4 separate regions of the Homo sapiens genome follow, and all the other regions are linked to region 2. The links are contacts of gene promoters, found by promoter capture Hi-C in human tissues and cell types (Jung and others, 2019). All regions are on one chromosome and are shown on one strand. The core of a region is centred on a gene start or on the middle of the fragment in contact, and the rest is flanking DNA. Distances in the headings are between cores, read along the strand shown.

Evidence for each region. Contacts are between HindIII fragments. The study calls those that stand out against the background at their distance.
Region 1: a fragment that was not itself captured here is called in contact with the fragment with the promoter of NUAK1 in region 2 in 1 of the 25 tissues and cell types used here (liver).
Region 3: a contact is called between a fragment that was not itself captured here and the fragment with the promoter of NUAK1 in region 2, in 7 of the 25 tissues and cell types used here (H1 embryonic stem cells, IMR-90 fibroblasts, aorta and 4 more).
Region 4: a fragment that was not itself captured here is called in contact with the fragment with the promoter of NUAK1 in region 2 in 1 of the 25 tissues and cell types used here (adrenal gland).

What each region holds. Positions count from the first base shown.
Region 1 is chr12:105,360,481-105,366,392 of GRCh38, forward strand. It overlaps C12orf75 (chromosome 12 open reading frame 75), which reads left to right. Exons shown (of 6, transcript NM_001145199.2): 3 at 5,327-5,362. Among named protein-coding and RNA genes, the nearest start is that of C12orf75, 33 kb to the left of the region's middle. The HindIII fragment of the contact is 8,128 bases long and covers 1-5,912 here.
Region 2 is chr12:106,136,040-106,141,777 of GRCh38, forward strand. It overlaps NUAK1 (NUAK family kinase 1), which reads right to left and starts at 2,915. Exons shown (of 7, transcript NM_014840.3): 1 at 2,375-2,915. The coding sequence starts at 2,614. RefSeq lists enhancers at 1,344-1,845, 4,237-4,856. The HindIII fragment of the contact is 8,166 bases long and covers 1-5,738 here.
Region 3 is chr12:105,622,223-105,628,086 of GRCh38, forward strand. No RefSeq gene overlaps it. Among named protein-coding and RNA genes, the nearest start is that of CASC18, 79 kb to the right of the region's middle. The HindIII fragment of the contact is 4,682 bases long and covers 1-3,862 here.
Region 4 is chr12:105,341,475-105,347,762 of GRCh38, forward strand. The region is part of intron 1 of C12orf75 (chromosome 12 open reading frame 75); the gene reads left to right. Among named protein-coding and RNA genes, the nearest start is that of C12orf75, 14 kb to the left of the region's middle. RefSeq lists an enhancer at 2,279-2,835. The HindIII fragment of the contact is 4,765 bases long and covers 1,741-6,288 here.

The DNA.
Region 1 (5,912 bases), core at 2,768-5,267, 770 kb before region 2:
AACCTAATAGAAATCTATGTGTGCCTACGGTGATGTGTACCTGTAAATGTAAAATTTATTTGCCTTTGATTTGAATGACATAAGCTACCTGTGGGCACCTCAGTTCCCCCATGCCCATCAGAAGCTCCTTTTGGCACTTACATGTGTAAGAAAATATTGACAAGTGAATTATTACAATTTTTATTTTTTGAGACGGGGCCTTGCTCTTTCACCCAGGCTGGAGTGCAGTGGCGTGATCTCAGCTGACTGCAACCACTGTCTCCCGGGCTCAGGTGAACATCTGGGCTGCCTCATCTTAGATCTTTTTTTTTGTGAGACCGAGTCTGTCTCTGTTGCCCAGCCTGGAGTGCAATGGCGCGATCTCGGCTCACTGCAACCTCCGCCTCCCAGGTTCAAGCGATTCTCCTGCCTCAGCCTCCCGAGTAGCTGAAATAACAGGCACACATCACCATGCCCAGTTAATTTTTGTATTTTTAGTAGAGACGGGGTTTCTTCATGTTGGCCAGGCTGGTCTCGAACTCCTGACCTCAGGTGATCCGCCTGTCTCGGCCTTCCAAAGTGTTGGGATTAAAGGTGTGAGCCACCGCGCCTGCCCTGTAGATCATTTTAAGGAATCAACGTACCCTTTTCCCTCACAAGAGGGAGGCTCGTGTGATCCTCCCACCGCCACCTCCTGTAGCTGGGACCACAGGTGCACACCACCACACCTGGCTACTTTTATTTTATTTTCTGTGTTCTTAGTAGAGATAAGATCTTGCCGTGTTGCCCAGGCTGAAATTATTAAGGCAGGTAAAATCTTTCAAAATAAAGAGTTTTGTGAGGGGGAAAAAGGTATGTTGATTCCTTAAAATGGTTTGCAGATGGGGCAGCCCTGTTGTTTGGATAGCTGGGGCATTATTCAACACTTGAGAAATTGAGAACAAGGATTCAAATCCCAAAGACTTAAAGTTTCTTGTAAAAGTGTTGAGTGATAAAATAAATTTAACATCCCAGTTTTGAACAGCCACTTCTCTTACCAAAAAAACGACCTTTAGGGAAATGAGTCCCCCCACCAGAAGGTGTGCTTTTTAGACTTTTTAGACTATGGAGCCTAAAAACCTAATAACCTGAGGCAATCGCATTGGCCTGTCAGGAGCTTTGGCTTAACATGTCTGGGCCTTCCTTTTACCAGGGGTCTTTATTGCTGTGTATTGACCCATTTTTCTTCCTTACGCTAAAGCTTGTGCAGGTGGGGCAGGACCACACCACCCCAACAGGTAGGATGCTGTGTCCCTTTGAACACTGGCAGGACAGCATTTGGTTCTCTCCCCAGGCAGCTCAACACAAGGGCTTGGACCTATCCTTCCGCAGGAAGAGTTGGTTTAGACCAACCACCGCTTTCTGATTTAACCTTAGTCTGGACCTGGTTGTCCAGATGAATAGATTCTAATGTAACTGCTCATCAGAACAACCTTTGTACCTGCATAAAAATGACTTATGTGGCAATTTGACAAGATCTGCGAAGATTGATGGTCCCTGGCAGCAGTTAGAGGTTGTTTCTCATGCTGATGAAACAGACTAGGACTCTTCTACAATCTTGTTTCTGACTTTTCTTGAGTGGGATGATAAAAATTGGAGAGCTCCTGGCCGGGCGCGGTGGCTCACGCCTGTAATCCCAGCACTTTGGGAGGCCGAGGCGGGCGGATCACGAGGTCAGGAGATCGAGACCATCCTGGCTAAAACGGTGAAACCCCGTCTCTACTAAAAATACAAAAAATTAGCCGGGCGTGTGGCGGGCGCCTGTAGTCCCAGCTACTTGGGAGGCTGAGGCAGGAGAATGGCGTGAACCCGGGAGGCGGAGCTTGCAGTGAGCCGAGATCCCGCCACTGCACTCCAGCCTGGGCGACAGAGCGAGACTCCGTCTCAAAAAAAAAAAAAAAAAAAAAAAAATTTGGAGAGCTCCTTTGGGAGGCTGAGGCGGGTGGATCATGAGGTCAGGAGATTGAGACCATCCTGGCTAACATGGTGAAACCTCCTGTCTACTAAAAATACAAAAAATTAGCCGGGTGTGGTGGCGGGTGCCTGTAGTCCCAGCTACTCAGGAGGCTGAGGCAGGAGAATGGCGTGAACCTGGGAGGCGGAGCTTGCAGTGAGCTGAGATCGCGCCACTGCACTCCAGCCTGGGTGACAGAGCAAGACTCCGTCTCAAAAAAAAAAAAAAAAAAATTGGAGAGCTCCAGCTGCGGGAAGGTGCATGTTTCTCTAATGCAAATTAGCATGGGCCTACAGTGTATGAAGCAGGAATTAGGATCACACAAATCTGGGTTTGAATTCTGGCTCTATGATTTAGCTTCGTAAGTTCGGTCATGCTACTCAGTTTTTTCATTTTTAAAATGTGAGTAGTACTGGTCTTGCAAGATTGTATAAGGATTAAATGAACTAATATAATAGGATTAGCAAAGTGCCTAGTATAGTTACACAATCAGGTTGAGAGATGGGATGATGGTCAAAGCTTTTGCAAAAGCAGTATGGAGGTGAATCGCCCACTTTAGGAGAAGCCACTACGTTGGTCTTTCACAGGAAGTGTTTTTGACTTTTACATCTTTCTACCTGAGAAGCAGAGTGGTGAATGAGAATGGAGCATGGCTTTGGTGCCAGATGGATGGGGTATGGATGTTGGTCATGCTTGTTAGTCTTGTATGTTTATGAATTACATGGCTTTCTGCACCTGGTTCCTCAGGCCTAGGCCCTCAGAGCTGTTGTGAGGAATAGCATGGATGCACGTGCAGTGTCCTGCACTGTGCCTGACACACAGGAGAGACTCATGAATGACACCATTATACCCACGGAGTCCTGGTCTCTAGTCCTAGTGTTGTAGAATAACTGTTTGTGGAAGGAATGGATGAAGTGACAGTCTTATACATGGGAGTGAGTATGCAAAGACAGGCTTTACAACTTACTGGAAGGTTTAAAAGAGTGGATATCTGGCCGGGCGGGGTGGCTCAGCCTGTAATCCCAGCACTTTGGGAGGCCGAGGTGGGAGGATCACGAGGTCAGGAGATCAAGACCATCCTGGCCAACATGTTGAAACCTCGTCTCTACTAAAAATACAAAAATTAGCTGAGCATGGTGGCACGGGCCTGGAATCCCAGCTACTCGGGAGGCTGAGGCAGGAGAATCACTTGAACCAGGGAGTCAGAGGTTGCAGGGAGCCGAGATTGTGCCACTGCACTCCAGGCTGGTGACAGAGCAAGACTCTGTCTTAATTAAAAAAAAAAAAAAGAGTGGACATCTTATAAGTCTTTATAGGTAGTATTTTTTTTAAGATTTGGCATTATATCTGAAGCTTAATTTATTATCCAATAAATATGGCAACTACATTATCATTTCCTGCCAGTTATACATGTAAGGTTGTTGATTAATTTTATAATGGAGAACACAGATTGAGTTTTAAGATATTGAGTAATTTAACAGGAGAAAGTAAATGACTATTTTCTTACATTTGGGAAAGTGAAAATATATTTTAAAACCTTGAATATATCCTTAAGCACAGTTAAGCAAAAGGGGAAAGAATTAAAATAAACGGATATGTAAATGGATGTGAAAAGAATAGTCATGGCCGGAAATGTGTGTCATAAGCTACCAGTTATATACAGATTCAAGTGATTTCTTGAGAAAGTTAATCACTCAGGACCAAAGTAAACAGTTCTTATCAGAACTTACCTTGAACGAGTTTGTCCTCATCATTTCTCCATTATCTATGCTAAAGGATTATAAATCCATTTTAATTAAAAGTAGTGAACAACTCTCTCTTATACCACATCAATAAGCATAACACCATTAGTATGACTTTGACACTTGAACTAAAAAAACAATCCAGCGTTAAGAGGTAAATGAAGCTGATAACCATCTAGTGAATTTAGGTTATATGCTCAGTTTGGATGAATTAGGTCTCAAGATGGATTTTGCACTCTCTTCCAGTATTAGCTGTTCATGGCCAGCGTTCACCAGATAATTATTAAATCTACACTTTCCTTCTTTATAGACTTGGACTTACTGGCTGTTGCAATAAAGCAAAAATCTCATGCACATATACAGTCACATTTGAAATATTCACAGCTTTTAAGTGGGTAAAATCATAGTTAGACAATCTCTGAATCAGAAGAGTCAATGACATTTAGATGTTTGCAGTCTGCTTTTTGCTCAACTGAAGCCCCTTAGTGTTACAAGTTGAATTCAGCCAGATACATTGGAATCTTGTTGAATTATTTTTTTTTTCTTTCAGAAAAGCAACTTATGTATGCCAACTAGTGCTTCAAGGAAAGTGTCCTGATTCTCTTAGAAATACGCCAAGGAATTCTGGTAGAATATGGACTCCTTTTTTTTTTTTTTTTTTTTTTGAGACCAAGTATCCCTCTGTTGCCCAAGCTGGAGTGTAATGGCGTGATCTCTGCTCACTGCAACCTCCACCTCCCGGGTTCAAGGATTCCTGTGCCTCAGCCTCTTGAGTAGCTGGGACTACAGGCGTCACCATGCCTGGCTAATTTTTGTATTTTTAGTAGAGATGGGGTTTCAGCATGTTGGCCAAGCTGGTCTCGAACTCCTGACCTCAGGTGATCCGCCCGCCTCGGCCTCCCAAAGTGCTGGTATTACAGGCATGAGCCACCATGTCCAGCTTGGATTCCTCTTAATGCAAGGAGAGAAGCTGTGCATTTTAAAGTAGTGATCCCCTCTAAATGTATCCTTTTAAATATTTCTCCCTCTCTTTGCAGTAGATCATGTATGAAATGGCTCATGTTTTTAGATAAAAAAAAATCAAATAGGCATTAACTCTTTTTGCACTGAAGAAGTCTTTCAGTACCTATAGTTGTGCCACTGAAGTGTCATAAGAGATCTAAAACCATGTATTAGGACTGGAAGAGACCTGAGGGGTCATCTGGTCAACCAGCTTATTTTACAAATGAGACACAGGCTGGCAGCTCGCCCACAGCCTGTCTGTCACACAGGGAGTGGGTGGTACACACAAGACGATAACTCAGGCTTCTTTCCAATTTCAGCTGCCCTCAGTTTTCCATTTCATTTGGCAGTTGTGCATTTTGGCATTTGCTGGATTCACACATTTTGGTTTGTAGAAAATTACCAAGTTTTAACGTATGAATGATTGAGGTGAAGGCAGAATATTGTCACAGAAACACTTGATGGATAGTTTTGCTCCTCTACTTAAGTCTGATGGAAACATTTGAAATAAAATTGACTTCAACTCAGTAGTCCCTTTTTCTCATAACCAAAAATGAAGTCCCCGACTATGTAACCAAGTGTCTCATAGCAAATGTTTCTGACCTTTTAGAACAGAAGAATCCGTAACAGAAGATGACAAGAGGAGGTATGTTTGGTATTGCAGCTGGCTTTAGTTTGAATGGTTTTGGCCATACCTCATGGATTTAACACACTGTAGCATATTCCCAATAACACAGATTCTGCCAGGAAAACTGTTGGCACAGAGAATACAGGTAGGGGCATATGGTCTGAAAAAGAACTTGCCCAGGATTCATCATCTTTGCTCCTTCCAAGCAAACTTGGTTTTTGTCCTATGCATGTGGCGTGTGCTAATTTTCATCCTATGACCTTTGGGTGTGCTCTTCTCCCTAACTGGATGACTTCCCTTCATTCTCTCAGCCTTCCCTGTCCTCCTACTTCTCTGATTAACTGCACTCCACCCTCATTTCTCTCTTGCTGTCTCTGCCCTCATTTTGTATCTCTCTATTAGTAAGATATCTTTGTGTGTCCATAATGCCTAATATCATACCATGTTGACCACTCTGAATTATTGATAAATGTTAACTGTAACATGTCACTGTATGATATTTAATACTCTAATAAATTGTAACATCCCAAAGTCTTTTCTTCTTTCTCATTACAAGTAAAATATCTAA
Region 2 (5,738 bases), core at 1,665-4,164:
GGGGCCAAGGAGGACTTTCCTTCCCCAAACCTCAGTTTTCCCATCTGTTTTATGCAAGGTTTTTACCCAGGGATCTGGCTAACATTCTGTAAGCTCAGCTATCAAGGAGAAAGCAGCCCCATGAATAAACGAAGCATTTTAGAGACTGTCAGTTTCTGGGCGTGGGTCTGCTGCCAGATTTAAAATCTTTACATAATTTTGGGGTAAAACAAGAGATTTAGCTGAAATTAATAGCACAATGGGAAAATGAACTAGGGCTGAACAATAACACAGCGGGACTTCAGATTTGCGGCTGGTAAAGAAGCCTCTCTCGTTCTCAGGGCGCCCCCTCGTGGCCGCTTGACTAAATCCTGACGGAATGTTCAGTTTCTGCAAATACAGAGAAAGACATCCCCCAAAAGAGAAAGGCGGACTCCTGCCTACTGATGCAAATCCCTTTCACTCTAACCTAGTCTGTGGATCAGACAGCTCAAGAACGCCTGACAGGAAGTCCCACTGACGCTCAGAAAGGCGTCTGCCATAAGACAAGGGTTCGTTCGTTAGAAAGGTCTGAGGTAGTGCCCCAGCATTTAGACTTTGGGGTCCCTTCACAGACCCTAGACACACCCTTACCACTTCAACAACCCCTCATAGCCTCACATTCTCAACCTGCAGCTCGAACTGCGTCTGTTTTTCATTATTCTGCTTCCCACCTTCCCAGTGCGATTCTTCAGCAGCTATTAAGACAACATGAGCAGGGATCTAAGCTTAGTTTTTGCTTATTCAACATCCAGCCTGGGGAATATCACCTCAGAAGAAAAGCATGAATGAAGTGCACGTTTCCCAGCCTCTTCTTCCACAAACCTGAAATTGCCTTCATCAGAGGCCACCCTTACAACCCTCCCCTTTAACAATTTCATCCTACGAAAATGGCACCTGCCCAGAGTGAATTCTCAACTACTTGCTTGCTGTAGAATTTATTACAGAGCCAGCTTTAAAAAGAAATGTACGCCATCTCAAATTTCCAATTAATTGATAACAGATTTTTTTTTAAAATAACGTTATGGGACGAAGTTATATAGACCCAAACATCAAATCTGAGAAATGGGTTGGGAGGGCGTTATCCGGGTATCCAGATATTTGAGAATTTGGGGACTGAACTTTGCTGACTGGCACCCCCATGTTTTTTTCACAGAACTGTTCCTGCCGAAATGCAAAAGAAACATGTCAATACTAAGCTGCTATTTTATTTGACAGCTCATTTTCCTTTTTCCCTGCAGTCATTTGTTGTTTATAAGCAAACCTGAGCCTCCAAAACACCCCCAAAAGTGCACACAAGGAGTCCCATAATCAGTTTCTGACTTTGGCCCTAAATCGATTAGAATACATCTGATCTGCTTCAAATCAAAGAACCATGTTAATTTTCTGCCACACACCACACAAAATCTTTCTGCAACAGTCAGTCACTTTGAACCCAACTCTCTAGCCACAAGCAGTGTGGATTTCAAGGGCCTGTTCTGCAGAAGTGAAAATAACAACAAACCAAGGCTGGGACAAGGCAGACAGACCCCAAGGCACTCAAAGCACTCCTTGGAGCTGTGCAAATGGTGCCAGGACCCTGGCAGGGTGTCAGCTGTCACAAGAGCAGCGGGGCCAGACCCCTTCAGCGGTTTGGTAGCCCTGCAACCAGGAGCTGAAACACAACTGAGCCTGCTGCAACTAAGCACAGCTATCTCTGTAGCTACCCATGCCCTGGACATTTCGGTCCTCCCAAAGCCATGATGCAAACTGTTAGAATCCTCAGGCTTGCAGTAGTCTTTATTTTTGCTCCCTAACCTTGTCTCAAAAACAGGCAAGAGTCGCCCTCCCTTGCAGTCACAGCAGTATCAGGGCGATGCAGAGTCTGAGTGGGAGGATGCAGAGCAAGGAGCTGCGGGCAGATGGGTGGAAGGGGGTAGGGACACCTACAAAACACCGGACTTGAGGGGCTAGCTCCTAGCTGGGAATGTGGTTCTTTGGAGAGTTGTGGAAATAAGACGTTTCGGGGCATGGTCTAAATGAGTGCCTGCGAGGGAGAGAGACCCCGGCCGTCCCAACGCTGCAAAGTGTTTGCAAATCTAAAACATTCCTTTGCTGCTAGGATTAAATTTTTAAAAACAAACCAAAAAATAAAATAAAATATGTGCAGACAGGATGTAACAAGTGTTTCAGGACAGAGACACGCCTGAGTCACGGGGTGCTGGAGAAAGAGTGAGGAGTCTGTCTCGGGGCTTCCCAATGAGCCCCCTCTCTGTCAAGAGAGCCCCAGGGCGCACAGACCCCCGCCTCGCACGCCCTCAGTCCCCGGCCGCGTCCACCCAGCGCCCCCCGCACCCTCCAGGATTGCCCCACTCACCACTCGGCCAGAAAACCTCTCGGTGGCCCGCTTGACTTTGCCGTAGGTGCCTTTGCCCAGGGTCTCCTGCAGCTCGTAGCGGTGCTTCAAGTTGTGCTTGTGGTGATGCCGCTTCACCCCGTGCGGCTTCCTGGGCTCCAGGGCTGCAGTCGCCCCCGCCACCGCCTCTCGGGGAGAGCCCGGCGCCCCCAGCCCCAAGTCGGGGCGGTCCCCCGCCACAGGCGCGGCGGCCCCTTCCATGTCCAAGCGCGGGGCGAGCCGGGCTACAGAGGGCAAGACCGGGCACAGCGCTGGGATGTCGGGGTCCCCACCGAGGGAAGCCGCTGTACGCTCAAGGTCGCCCCCGCAGCATCAGGGAGGCGGCCCGATACCGCTCGGACTGCGGCTCGGTCACTGGCGGCGGCGGGGACTGCACATCTGGCGCCCGCGGCGCGCACGGTCCGCGCACCGCCCCCCGGCCGCGGCGAGCTGTGGAGCGTCGGGCGAGGTGGCGGCGGTGGCAGGGGAGGCGGTGGTGTTTGCAGGAGGGAGGGGAGAGGGTGGCTCGCAGCGCAGGAGGGGGAGTGTTATGTGGGGCGCCGCGCCCCCCAACCCCTCCCCGGGAGGACGCGCAGACGGGGCGGGGGCGGCGCTCGCGCGGCCCCAGGGGAGGGGGAGCGAGGGGCGGTGCAGCCAGGGCTTCCCCCACCTCCCTGCAGCCACCCGGGGCCGGGGCCGCCGTGAGCTGGGAGGGGGATGGGAGCGTGTCGCGACTCGCCCTTTGTGCGGCGCGGCGTAGGCCACGGCGGCGGCGGCGGCGGCGGCCAGGAGTGCTTTGTCCTCGCTGGGCCGGAAGGGACCGGGAAATTCCAAGCCGGGCGCCCCCTCCCCGGGCGCTCTCGGGCTCGCCAGTCGCAGCTACCGCGGGCCCTCCGCCGCCTCGGGCTCCGGGGCCGGTCGCTCGGCCTGGATTCCTGCTGGCGCCGGGGCGGCGGTTGCGGCTGGCCGAGCCCCGGGGCCGGGGAAGAAAGAGCGCCGCGAGCCGGGGGCCGCCGGGACCTGCTCGCGATACGGCCGGGGCCGCCGCGGGCCTGGGCGCCCCTTCATTTTCTTGTAGGTGTCGCCGCAGCCTGGCGGCCGGAGCTGGGGGAGGGGGCAGGGAGGCCTGGTGTTCGGTTACAGGCGGTGACTCACGGACCTTGCCCGCCCGAGGCTGGCACCCCGCGGGGCAGAGCTGCGCCCGCCTGGGGCAACTCCGAGTCCAGGAGAACCCCAAGAGCGGCGCTTTGGCCCCGGCCCCCGCGCCCTCTCCGAAGAAAGGAGAGTCAGGGACGGAGGGAGGCCGGGAGGCTGAACCCCGGGCCCGCCGTCGAACCGCCGGCCCTCCGACACCATCTGGACCCCGGCGGGGACAGCCGCCTGGAAGGGGAGGAAGGCCAGGGACGTGGAAGAGATGGGGCTCTAAAGGCGCCGGGACGGAGCTGGCTCCCCAGAGGCGCCCACCCTGCCAGCGAAGGCCGCCATCGGAGGTGGGCAAACCAGGGACCTGGGGTGGACCAGGACCCCGGGCCTGCTGAGCAACCCGTTTGCTGAGCAGGAGGCGATTTGCAGGCCTCTTGCCTCCTTAGGCCTTGGGAGATTTCCTTTCACTGAAAGGGCCAGATCCTGGCGATGGTGACAGGAACGGTACCCCGCACGGTAAGGGTCAGGCAGGAAGGGCCTCCCACCGCGGCGTGGCTGCCGCCGTTCTAAGAAGAGACCATGAAAAATAAGGAAGAAGGCTAGAGAAAAAGAGGTCTTAGGGAAATTTTTTTTTTTAACAAGTGGTGCAATGTACCAGACTAGGGTGGGAAGAGTGAAGGCTGAAGAAGGTCTGGTGTTCTGCAGATCGCATGGCGGTTCTTTTCCACCAGTGGACCTCACTGGGGCCTCCTCTGCAGCTCTCAGGTGCAGCCCTTCCTCTACATTCCCGCCGCCTTCATTCCTGTCTACCCCTGGTCACCTTACCCCGGACTCCAGCAACAGCCCGCTCTCCCCAACCCTCCCCGGGAGCCTCCTCACTGCTGCCAGAGTAATGGCCTGAAACACTGCCCTCATCCTCCACACGTGTCTCTGCTGTACTCTGACGCGTGATATTCTTACCTGTCCAAACTTTCCTTCTACTGATATTTCACACAAACTTCCCTGCCCCTTCTTCCCTTCCCCAGGAGCAATGACAGAACACAGACACAAAGGCGCATCATGCCTATTCAATTCCTATTCTGTCCACCGCATTTGCAGGGCCTCCCTGCCACCCACCCCCATCCTGAAACTGTTCTGCTTCTATACAGTTTGTGGACGTTGTGCCTATAGATCCCACAGTCAGGATGAGTGGCATGCAGGTTGAGTCCTGGCTTCCCAGAGGATTGGCTGTGTGGCCTTGGTCAAATGACATAACCTCTCAGAGCTTCGGTTTTCTCTTAAGATATGGATTTAGCAGATCTATTGTAGAGATAAACACATTGTGTCTACAGTAGTATTTTAAAATATTTTCTACTTCTTCCCCTCCCCTGCGATGTGGTAGAAATCCACTACCCCATCCTCTTGAAGTTAGATGAGACCATCGGACTTGCTTAGGCCAATGGAATGAGAGCAGAAGTGATTGTGTTGCTTTCACTTGGAACCTTTAGGAGCCAGTGAGCAAATCCCCATGTCTTCTTTTTCCTATCTTGACAATCATGGTGGTACAAAGTTGGAGCCTCCCCAAGCCAGCCTGAGTCTCTGTGTAAAGATGGCAGAAAATCCCAGCCAATCTGCATTGGAAAAGTAGTGTCAGCAAATATTAAACTTTATTTATGTTAAGTCAGTGGGATTTGTTAAAGCAGCATAACCTGGCTTATTCTGGCTGATAGTGTTACTCCCAGATATGTGGGACTTCATCAGTATCTATTGAATCAACAGCATCATCTACCATAGGCTGGTACTGTTTTATGACAGTAAACCCTCCTCTGTAAAGTAGCTGTTTACAATCCCTATTTTCAATTGAAGAAACCGTATCAGAAAGGTTAAGTAATTTCCCAGAGGTTACACAGTTTGTAAATGGCAGGACCAGGATTTAAACCCTACCTGTCCAGTTCCAAAGCTCCCCCTTCTCCTTTCATATATGCCATGCTCCGTCTCCTTAAATGGGAAGGATGAAAAACACCCAGTACAATGCCTAGCACACAGTCATGCCCAGGCACTGGGAGTTCCTCTCCAGACTGAATTCCTACCACGTTTATAATTGGAACCACACTTCAGCACAATGCTATCAGGCATTGTGTGTGAATGTTTTCACATCGATAAAGCATTTTCTCCAACAAGAGCCCAGGCTCCTTGATTAAGAGCTTCAGATCTAGAGGCAGAG
Region 3 (5,864 bases), core at 272-2,771, 520 kb before region 2:
TTAATGACAAGACATACTGAAATTCCAGAAAGATTAAAACAGGAAAAAGTTGTAGGTCTGGGAGTTAAAGACATATGCTAATAGGTACCATTTATTTAGTGTCCACAAAGGGCTCAGTAATTATTTAGCTAAAGAACCTTTTCTTGATTCATTCTGCCTCCAAGAAGCTCTCAACCATGTAGTCCTGCCCTCTCTGCATGACTTTCTGGATCGCTTTCTGTGCCAAAAGCAAACTTCACACGCCTTAAGAATGTATGTTCTCCAAGCTTATTTGGCCTGTGAAAAGAATAAGTAGATTTCCTATTAGCTGTGTAATATTTGCTACATTTTAAGGAAAAAGTGCTGTTGAAAATAGGATCCAAACCAACCAAGCCCCAAGACCAAAACAGAGACCCCAAATATTTGTTCTCTATTGCTACCAGTTGAGGATTGATGATTTCTGCTTCTCAGGAAGAGCGTAGGGGGTGAAAGTGGGAGGTCAGCTCTTTTTGTCTGAGAAAATAATTTTCTTTCTTTCAAGGTATTAGCAATGCAATTATTTCATCAAGGTGAATTAGTTCTCTACTTGGGTCCCAGCCTGGGGTTTCACTTGGAATTTTTCTTCACCACTTTCGGCCTCTAAATATTTGACCGAGAGTTTGAGTTCGGATTAAGCTGTCACAGATCTTGATTTGATAAGGGGAATGAAATTAAAATGGACAAAAAGAAGTGAGGCTAATTGGCACTTCCAAGTAATTTTTCCTTTACAATTAGCCAAAGAAAATTTTGTGGGGCAGAGTGATGCTTGCATTCTCCCTGAAGCTTCTTTGTGTGTGCCCGGGAGACCCCTGGCCAGGCCTCAACCCTGTCAGTCTCTCTGAGCGCCGTTCTCAGGGTATAATTGAGCTGGGCTTTGTTGTGAGCATCTATACACATTTAATGAGACTTATGTGTCTGTGCTCAGAGGATTCCAGATCCTCCACTACATTTCATTTGGAATTAATCCGACGTGGGCTGTTCTCCAGGCTTAATAGCTGAAAAGCCCTTTCCAAAGGGAAAGAATTCAGTGATAAAGTTTAATAAAGTTTAGTATGAAAGCTAATTCTTCATAAAACCCTGAAAAATTTTCCCCCAAAGTCCAGACACCACAACGATTGTATACCTCAGGATTTCATTTCTGTCCTCCTGCCTTGGGGCCCATGGACTGCAAGCAATGAATCTGCATTGGTAAATAAAGCATAACTTCATGACAGTTTAATGGGGTTGGGGAAAATCATTGGACCTTTATTTTTTGCAAAAGTGGCTCTTCCTATGTGTCTCGCTATGGTGAACCATAATGGGGGATTTGCTAGAGATAAGATCCTTAAAGTGAGACTAAAATAAACACAAAGGTAATCTTACTCCATTTCTGGGCTTAGGCTGTCTACCAAAGAGCAGCAAGTTCATTGCAAAAATGAATGGGATTCCTGGCCAGACAGTTCAAGGGGAGGAAAGGTGGGAGCTGGCAAGAGGGGAGAGAAAAAACAAGCAGCTGGTAGCCCTCCTTGGTGTGGCCCCTCTGCCTTAGTACCCTCCCAACTGGCCACTAGTCCATCCCCACCCCACTGTGGCTTCCTCTGTTTCAGCCTCACTCAAGCATAGCTCATCTTCAATGCCATAGTTTTAAATTTGCCTCTGGACTTGAATATCCTTTTTCACTTCTTTGCTTTGCTTCTCCCTACACATCCTTCAAGCATCATCTCTTTGGAAAGCCTTCCAGCTGTCCTCTGTTTGTTCTCTCAAAATCCTCTGCTCAGTGTGCTCTCTGAGCTTGTTGATGGTGTTGAAAGTGTCATTTATCTGTATGCATAAGAACCTCTTGGCCGGGCGCGGTGGCTCACGCCTGTAATCCCAGCACTTTGGGAGGCTGAAGCAGGTGGATCACCTGAGGTCAGGAGTTTGAGACCAGCCTGGCCAACATGGCGAAACCCCATCTCTACTAAAAATACAGAAATTAGCCAAGTGTGGTGGCACACACCTGTAATTTCAGCTACTTGGGAGGCCGAGGCAGGAGAATTACTTGAACCTGGGAGGCAGAGGTTGCAGTGAGCTGAAATTGCGCCATTGCACTCCAGCCTGGGTGACAGAGCAAGACACCATCTCTGAAAAAACAAAAACAACAACAAACAAAACAAAACAAAACAAAAAACTTCTTGCCCTTGACTGTGAGCCAATTGAGGTCAAGCACTGAGTATTTATTTATTACTTCATCTGCTTATTCAATCATTGAATCAGTACTTATTCAACACATACTATGTGCTGAGTACTGTGCCAAAAATACAATGGAGCTTGTGACATGCACATCCTCTGTTTCAGACTAGTGAGGGAGACAGAAAACACAGTACCCTCCCCGCAAAAAAAAATGTGAAAAAGAAAGAAAACAGGTGCTGAGATAATGAAATGGGATGACCACCGTACCATAAACAGGATCAGGAAGCAGTTTCCTTGAGGATGTGGTATGTAAGTTAAGACCCAGAAAAGGAGAAACTAGCTTTAGAAAAGTGCATATTAACTGCTCAATGACTGATTGAATGAATGAATCTAAATGGGAGGTCCTTGTAGTCCACTGAGTTCAATTTAAAATACTGTTGAGAGTAAAGTCAGTGAGTGCCTCCCAGGGCAGTGTTGGAGAGGCTTTGCAAGTGCTCTCTGATCCGTTGGTAATGGCTGCTTGGGGCACTTTTGGGGTGGACTCTGTGGTTGTATCCAAGCTAGTGGGAAAGATTGCCCTGAACAATGAATGAGCTCTGCTATGGGTGTGGAGGTAACAGTGATTTGAGTGCTAGACTCTTTAGATCCAGATGGACTGACTGGCAGGAGGAAGCATTTCTCATTTTTCACTTCTAATCTTTCCTTTTTGCTCTCTGATTCTTCTCCCAAATTTCTCTCATTCGTTTCTGCTCCATTAAATCAGCTTATGATATCTTCACGCTTATTTTAAGATTTGCCCAACTGCATATATGTATAGTCCCAAGTATAATGCAAACACAAACACATATATATGTATGTGTACATATATAAAATATATTCATATATGCAAACATCATATGCACACTGCACACACAGGTGTATTTCCAATCAGTTCAATCTCACCTTATGTGAACATGAACATCCAATAGCGCTGCCCATTTCCATTTGATACTCAATTACTCATTCTAGTCTTGGAGTAAATATTTTACCTTATCTATATATACAACTGCTTTCAGCAGCCTGGTGAGCCTCAGGGAAATAGGATTTAGATTTGAAATATCTGGATCAAAATCCTAATTTTCCACTTATTGGTAGTAACTTATCCAAGCTTTAACTGTAAAAAATGGATTTAATAGGAATAACAGATACCACACATGCATCAGAAAAAGTTGGAAGATCAAATAAGACAATGCGTATGAGTACATTTGAAAAACTTCAGATTTAGAAAAGTACTTTTTCATAAATATATTTCAACTTATCTACTCCATATTTGCCTCTTTGTCCTTGGTACTCTGATGTGTAAGATCTTAGAAGCAGGGTTCATTTGCTTATTCTAGAAAATTGTTAAGTATAAATTGGTTCTTCTTTTTTTGTATTTTTTCTGAGGCAGGGTCTTGCTCTGTCATCCAGGCTGGAGTACAGCGGTGTGATGATAGCTCACTGAAGCCTCAATCTCCCAGGCTCGAGTGATCCTCCCACTTCAGCCTCTTGAGTAGCTGGCACCATAGGCACGCATCACCACTCCCAGCTAATTTTCAAACTTTTTTTGTAGAGGCAGGGTTTCCCTATGTTGCTCAGGCTGGTTTTGAACTCCTGGGCTCAAGCATTCTCCCACCTCGGCCACCCAAAGTGCTGGGATTACAGGCATGAGCCACCACACCTGGCCTTAAATTGCTTCTTCTTAAGTTCATTCTGATACAAATAAATGGGCTCTATACACATTTGTTTTTCCCCTTGGTAACTGAAGAAATAAATTTTAACATGATTTGGAAACTTTTTGCTCTGCTGGTTTTCATAGTTAAGTTCCTGACAGGACACCGCAAGAAAAGAAGACTATAGGCCAATATTCCCAATGAACATAGATGCAAATACCCCTAGCAAAATGCTAACAAACCAAAATCAGCCGCACATTAAAGAGATCATTCACTGTGATCAAGTGGGATTTATTCCAGGAATGCAAAGATTGTTCAACATACATAAATTAAAAAATGTAATATACCATATTAACAAAATGAAGGATGAAAACCACATGATCACCTCAGATGCAGAAAAAGCATTTGACACAATTCAATATTAATTCATGGTTAAAAAAAAAAAACCCTCTCAAAAATAGGCATAAAAGGAATGTACCTCGACATAAGAAAGGCCGTACATGACAAGCCCATAGCTAACATCATACTCAGTGATGAAAAGTCAAAAGCTTCTCCTTTAAGATCAGGAGTAAGACAAGAATGCCCATTCTCACCATTTGTATTCAATATCATACCAAAAGTCCTCTCCAGAGCAATTAGGTAAGAAAAAGAAAGACATTCATACAGAAAAGGAAGAAATGTGTCTACAAAAAGAGTCAAATCCTGTAAAATATTTGAAGAGATTTATTCTGAGCCAAATATGATGACCAATGATCCATGACACAGTCTCAGGGTTCCTGCTGAGAACATGTGCCCAAGATGATTGTACAGCTTGGGTTTTTTTTTTTTTTTTTTTCTTTTTTTGAGACGGAGTCTTACTCTGTTTCCCAGGCTGCAGAGCAATGGCATGATCTTGGCTCACCGCAACCTCCACCTCCTGGGTTCAAGCAATTCCCCCGCCTCAGCCCCCTGAGTAGCTGGGATTATAGGCACCCACCACAACGCCTGGCTTATTTTTGTATTTTAGTAGAGACAGGGTTTCACCATGTTGGCCAGGCTGGTCTCGAACTCCTGATCTCAAGTTATCCACCCACCTTGGCCTCCCAAAGTGCTGGGATTACAGGTGCGAGCCACCACACCTAGCCTACAGCTTGGTTTTATATGTTTTGGGGAGACATAAGACATAAATCAATACATGTAAGATGTATATTGGTTCAGTCTAGAAAAGCAAGACAACTTAAAGTGGGGTGGCTTCCAGGTCATAGATGGACTCAAAGATTTTGTGATTGACAATTGGTTGAAAGAGTTAAGTTATTATCTAAAGACCTGGAATCAATAGAAGGGAGTGTCTGGGTTAAGATAGGGGGCTGTGGAAACCAAGGTTCTTATTATGCAGAGGAAGCCGCCAGGTAGCTGGCTTCAGAGAGAATAGATTGTAAATGTTTCTCATCAGACTTTAAAAGGTGCTAGACTCTCAGTTAATTCACTCTTGGTTTAGGAAAAGATCTGGAAAGGGAAGGGGATTCTCTACATAATGTAGGTTTTTCCCGCAAGAGACAGCTTCACAGGCCCATTTTAAAATATGTTGAAGAAATATATTTTGGGGTAAAATACTTCAGTTTCTTTCAGAGCCTGCTGTCATCTGATGCTATGCTACAGCCAGGATGGAATTTGGTATCTTATCGCTATAAAGAGTTTGCTTTGTGGGTCTTAAGCACTGCTTTAATGTTAATGCAGGTCAGCTGTGACTAAATTCCAGTGAGAGGGAGATAATGAGGCATGTCCAACCCCTCACTTTCCATCATCACCTGAACTATATTTTCAGGTTTACTTTGGAATGCCCTTGGCTGAGAGGGGGTCCATCAGTCAGTTTAGAGGGCTTAGAATTTTATTTTTTTGTTTACAAGTAGAATTGTCTCTGTTTGCTGATGACATTATCTTATATATAGAAAACCCTGAAGACTGTTAAAAAAACTGTTAACACTGATAAACAAATTCAATAAAGTTGCAGGTTGCAAAATTAAC
Region 4 (6,288 bases), core at 2,873-5,372, 790 kb before region 2:
GCCACACTTCTGTCAGCTATAGATTTGGGGGTCTTCACAAATCTCTTCAGGCTCAATGATTTGCTAGAATAGCTCACAGGACTCAGGAGGACACTTTCCTCATGTTTACTGTTTGATCATAAAGGGTCTGAATGAACAGCCAGTGGAAGAGGTACTTGGGGAAGTCTGGAAGTGTCCCAAGTGCAGAAGCCTCTGGCCCCAGTGGAGTTGGGCTATACCACAGTCCTGATGGGTAGATAAGTTCACCAACCTGGAAGCTCACTGAATCCAGTAATATGGTTTGGCTGTGTCTCCACCCAAATCTCACCTTGAATTGTAGTAATCCCCACATGTCAAGGGCTGGGCCAGATGGAGGTAACTGAATCATGGGGGTGGTTCCCCCATACTGTTGTCGTGGTAGTGAATAAGTCATGAGATCTGATGGTTTTATAAATGGGAGTTCCCCTGCACAAGCTCTCTTGCCTGCTGCCATGTAAGATGTGACTTTGCTCCTCCTTTGTGTTCCACCATGACTGTGAGGCCTCTGCAGCCATGTGGAACTGTGAGTCAATTAAGCATGTTTCCTTTATAAATTACCCAGTCTAGGGTATGTCTTTATTAGCAGCATGAGAACAGACTAATACATCCAGTTATTTTGAGGTTTTCGTAGGTGCTGTGGTTTGAGTGCGTTCCCCAACATGTGTTGGAAATTTAATACCCAATGCAGTAGTGTTGGGAGGTGGGACCTAATAAGAAGTGATTAGGGCTTGAGGGCTCTGCTCCCATGAATGGATTAATGTGTTTAATCATAAATAAACTGGGGGACGAATGGAATGGGTTGGTTATTGAGAGAGTGGGCTGGTTATTGAGAGAGTGGGTTGCTGTAAAAGCAAGTTTGGCCCCTTCTTGCGCTCTTGCTGTCTTGCCCTTCTGCCTTCCCACATGGGATGAAGGAGCATAAAGGCCCTCACCAGATGTGAGCCCCTCAATCTTGGACTTCCCAGCCTCTAGACTGTAAGAAATACATTTTATTTTCTTTATAAATTATCCAGTCTGTGGTATTCTATAACAGCAACACAAAAAGGACCAAGACACAAGCATGGCTGGTTAAATCCTTTGCCACTGGTGATTAACTCAATCTCCAGCCTCTCTCCTCTCTCTGCAGGTGGCAGGGTGGAGCTCAATGTTCCAAGCTTCTAATCAAGGCTTGGTCTTTCTAGCAAACAGCCCCCATCCTGAAGCCATATAGGGGCTTGGCCAAGAGTCATCTCATTAGAAGCCTCACAGAGAGGCTCCTGTCACTCATCACTCAGGAAATTCCAGGGGTTTTAGGAGCTCTGTGCCAGGAACCAGGGGCAAAGACCAAATATCTTATGATGAAACTGCAATATCAGATTAAGTTTTTTGAATGTTTGAATAGATGGGATTTGCTATGCATTTTTAATTAACTGAGACTTCTGTCATTGAGACTGATGAATAAAATGTTAAAATCTTCTGAAATGTGGAAAGTAAAAGCTAAACAGAGCCAAGGTGAGATGAAGTGATACTGTAAACAACCAACAGTGATGGAAATGTCCTTCTTTACATTCTATTTACAATTTTTATTACTGAAACTGCATATAATACTTTCCTGAGAACAAACCTTTCCCCTCTCCATTTTTAGGAAGATATTTAAAATTATGATTATCATTTCTACAGTTTTGGGAAATAGTCATTAAATCTTTTGACCCCCTCCCCTCCAAATTATAATAGTCTCTCTATATTTTTTGGTGTGTTTTTTTTCCCCACAAGAAACATTGTTACCTTTTTTTCATTTCTACTTCTCCTGAGGCCCTAGGCCCATTGTATTAACCCACCAAGGTTATGTTTAAACAGTAAGGAGCCAATTTGGCAGGACATGAAGTGGTATTAGGATGAATGATGTATCCTTGTGGCCTGGAAAAAAATAGATGTAACATTATACATATTTGCTTAATAAATGATAAAGCACATGAACCACAGATACAGTTTAAAGCAAATGGGATCTTGCCACTATCTAATTTTGATCAAAGCACTTTTTGCATAATTACTTAGATTAGGGATTGCCATTTGGTTAATTACAATAAATATATAAGCAAAGTGTAATTAAAAGGTTGCAGTGAGGGTAATTTTATTTCTGATCATTTTATGATTTTATACTTTTACAGGACAAATAAACTTATGCTTTGCATTTTATGTACCTAGGTACTCTGATAGTTTTGTTTAGGGTTTCCAACATTTGCAACCTTTTTTTTTTTCTTTTGGGAAGTTGTGTGTTAGGGAGTCATATTCTCATTACCCTGGTTACAAGCTTCTCAGTAACCACCATGTTACCTTGCTTCTAAGATGCACATTTTCCTATTAAAAAATGGAGCACATTTTACAATCATACACACACACAGACACACACACACTTCTTGGAGTGTTTCTGACTTCTTTGCCCCACCCCTACCATTGCAGTTATTCAGTTGATGATGCCCTTTCAAATGAGGGCCATTTTAGAACAGAGGGAATGGTCTGTTGACTTTGTTTTAAATGGTGGCACCATGCATCTCCCTTGGGCCTGCTGGGATGTTAAATGGTGAGCCCAGCAGGGAGGAGGCCCTTGATGGTGCCCATAGCTTGGTGCAATCAAGGTGAAGTGGATGGAGAGTTCCTGATGCTGATTAAAATAAGCACTGAATGCACAACATGTGGCCATTTGTAAACTCATTTCTCATTTCACACACGTTACTGTGCTTTGCCTTCCTAGCTGCATTTGTTGGCCCAGTATGTCCTCATTTACTAGATGCTGAAACAAAGTGATTTAGTGACTGTCAGACAAATACTGGCATAGGGATCCGACTCCAGTCATCTGCCTTCTGATTCCACACTGTTCTTACCCCATCACCGTTCTGCCATCCCTGAGATGTAGCAGGGCAGCCTTGGCCACTCTCTTCTTCCTGTGGATTGTACTAGGTCACCCCTCATCTTTAAATGTTGAGGACTCGGCCGGGTGTAGTGGCTCACATCTGTAATCCCAGTACTTGGGGAGGCCAAGGCAGGTGGATCACTTGAGGTCAGGAGTTCAAGACCAGCATGGCCAACATGGAGAAACCCTGTCTCTACTAAAAATACAAAAACAGTTAGCTGGGTGTTGTGGCAGGTGCCTGTAATTCCAGCTACTCAGGAGGCTGAGGCAGGAGAATCGCTTGAACCCAGGAAGCAGAGGTTGTGGTGAGCCAAGATTGTGCTGCCGCACTCCAGCCTAGGCAACAGAGTGAGACTCTGTGTCAAAAAAAAAAAAAAAAAAAGTTGAGGACTCATGGTCCACATTATAATCATTGTTTTCTTCCCTCTGTAAGACTTGCAGAGTCAAAGGCTCATCTCTGGTTCTCCCTTGCCCTGACTCCAGCAAAACCCAAACATACTCTTTATCCTTTTCCACAAAAATAAAAAAATAAAAGCTAAAAAGATATTATTTTCTTTTTAGACGTAAGCTGAAAATTCTAAGCCCCCCCCCAACCAATTAAATGGACCCCTTCTCTTGGCCAAGGTAATTCCTAAGTTAACCTGCAAAACTAGGTCAGGCCATGATGGGAAGTGGGGATTGGACATGCCTCATTATACCCTCTTCCCTTTGAAATTCAGGCACAACTGACCAGCATTTAACATTAAAACAGACCTTAAGACTGACAAAGCAGACTCTTTGTAGCAGTAAGATACCAACATGACAGCAGGCTCTGAAAGAAGTCAGGCCAGGTGTGGTGGCTCATGTCTGTAACCCTAACACTTTGGGAAGCTGAGGTGATTGGATTGCCTCTGCTCAGGAGTTTGAGACCAGCCTCGGCAACATGGTGAAACCCTGTCTCTATTAAAAAATACAAAAATAAGCCAGGCGTGGTGGTGCACGCCTGTAATCCCAGCTACTCAGGAGGCTGAGGCAAGAAAATAGCTTGAACCCAGGAGGCGGAGGTTGCAGTGAGCCAAGATGGCACCACTACACTCCAGCCTGGGTGGCAGCATAAGACTCCAAAAACAAATATAAAAAAAAAAGAAGTCAAAGTATTTTACCCCAAAATATATTTCTTTGACATAAATTTTGAAATGTCAAGCAAAGCTGTCGTTTGTGGGGGGAAATCTGTATTCTGTAGATAAATTCTCTTCCTTTTCCAGGTCTTTTTCCTGATCTTGAATTAGTGTCTGGCCTTTTTTTTTTTTTTTTTTTTGAGACAGAGTCTTGCTCTGTTGCCCAGGCTGGAGTGCAGTGGTGCAATCTCAACTCAATGCAACCTTTGCCTCCTGGGTTCAAGCAATTCTGCCTCAGCCTCCCAAGTAGCTGGGATTATAGGCGCCCACCACCACACCTGGCTAATTTTTGTATTTTTTTTTTAGTAGAGATAGGGTTTCACCATGTTGGCCAGGCTGGTCTCAAACTCCTGACCTCAGGTGATCCACCCACCTCGGCCACCCAAAGTGCTGGAATTACAGGCGTGAGCCACCGTGCCCGGCCTAGCACTTTTTTAAGTCTGATAAGAAACATTTAAAGAAGCTTCATCTGCAAAATAAAACCTTGGGTCTCCAAAATCCCTTATCTTAACTCAAGACAATTCCAGGAATCAATTGATTCCAGATCTTTAAATAAACTCTTTCAACCAATTGCCAATCAGGAAATCTTGGAATCCACCTATCACCTGGAAACAACCCCCCACACCCCCACCACTTTTGAGTTGTCCCGGACCAAACCAGTGTACATCGTACAGGTATTGATTGGCCTCTTATGTCTCCCCATAACGTATGAAACCAAGTTGTAGCCTGAGCACCTTGGACACGTGTTCTCCAGACCTTCTGAGGCTGTATCACAGGCATTCCTTAACCTTGGCAAAATAAACTTCTAAATTGATTGAGACCTATCTCAATACTTTTTGATTTACACAGATTTTCTTCTAGATTCTCATGCTTGACTCTAAAATAAAACGTTCATTTTCACGGGTGTATGGTGGCACTAATTTTTGTTAATTTTTTTCTATCAAAAACACTCTACTGTTGGCAGTTTTTCCTGTGTTAAGATTTTTTTTTAAGTTTAGGATCTTTTGGTTTAATAATCTCTGATTCTAAAGTAGTTTACATAATGTATCATTTTAACAGTAATGGTGGCACAGAAATGTTCTTCCCTGAAGAAAGGAACTAAGATTATTACAAAGTTTAGGTTTAGTCAAAGCCTTAAAAGAATTCGTTTGAGACATAGCCTCAATTATCTTTAGGATCAGCTTTTAATTTGCAGTATTACAGATGCAAAATGAATATCATTGTTTGATTGTTCTTGCAATTTGGCAATAACTTTACCCACAGACTTATTTACTTACTTTGTAGCACATCTTCCTTTATTTTTACACCTCTGTGACTTGTGCAGAAGTTATTTTAATTTCTATTTAATATATATCGAAATTGAAATATTAAGTGTGACGTCTAATAATAACTTAGTTTGCTATTTTTATGTGCCAGCTTTGTGTTAAGTGTTTACATTGTCTTTTTACACATTGTCTTTTTAAATCTTCACAATAACCTTTGAGAAAGATACCTTTTACCCTCATTTGACATAAGGGAGGTGAGGTTTTAAGAGGTTAAAGGATGCTTAATACCATATATCTTGTAGGAGTTGGAACCAAGTCCTGTGCCTCCCAGATAAAGATATTGGGAGGAGGAAATGTGGGCAGAGAATCTGCGAGAAGTAATGGGGATGGAGACCAGAAGAGATGAGCTGTTTTTGTCACATGGGTGGTGTATTAGGGTTCTCCAGAGGGAGAGAACTAATAGGATAGATGAATGTATGAAGGGGAATTTATTAAGGAGGACTGACTCACATGATCATTAGGTGAAGTTTCACAATAGGCCGTCTGCAAGCTGAGGGGCAAGGAAGCCAGTCCGAGTCCCAGAACCTCAAAAGTAGGGAAGTCAACAGTGCAGTCTTCAGTCTATAGCTGAAGGCCCATGAGCCCCTGGCAAACTACTGGTCTAAGTCCAAGAGTCTGAAAGCTGAAGAACATGGAGTCCGATATTCGAGGGCAGGAAGCATCCAGCATGGGAGACAGATGAAGGCCAGAAAGCTCAGCAAGTCTGCTCTTTCCACCTTCTTCTGCCTGCTTTATTCTAGCTGTGCTGATAGCTGATTAGATGGGGCCCACCCAGATTAAGTGTGGGTCTGCCTCTCCCAGTCCACTGACTCAAATGTTAATCTCCTTTGTCAGCACCCTCACAGACACAGCCAGGAATAATACTTTGCATTCTTCAGTTCAATCAAGTAGACGCTCA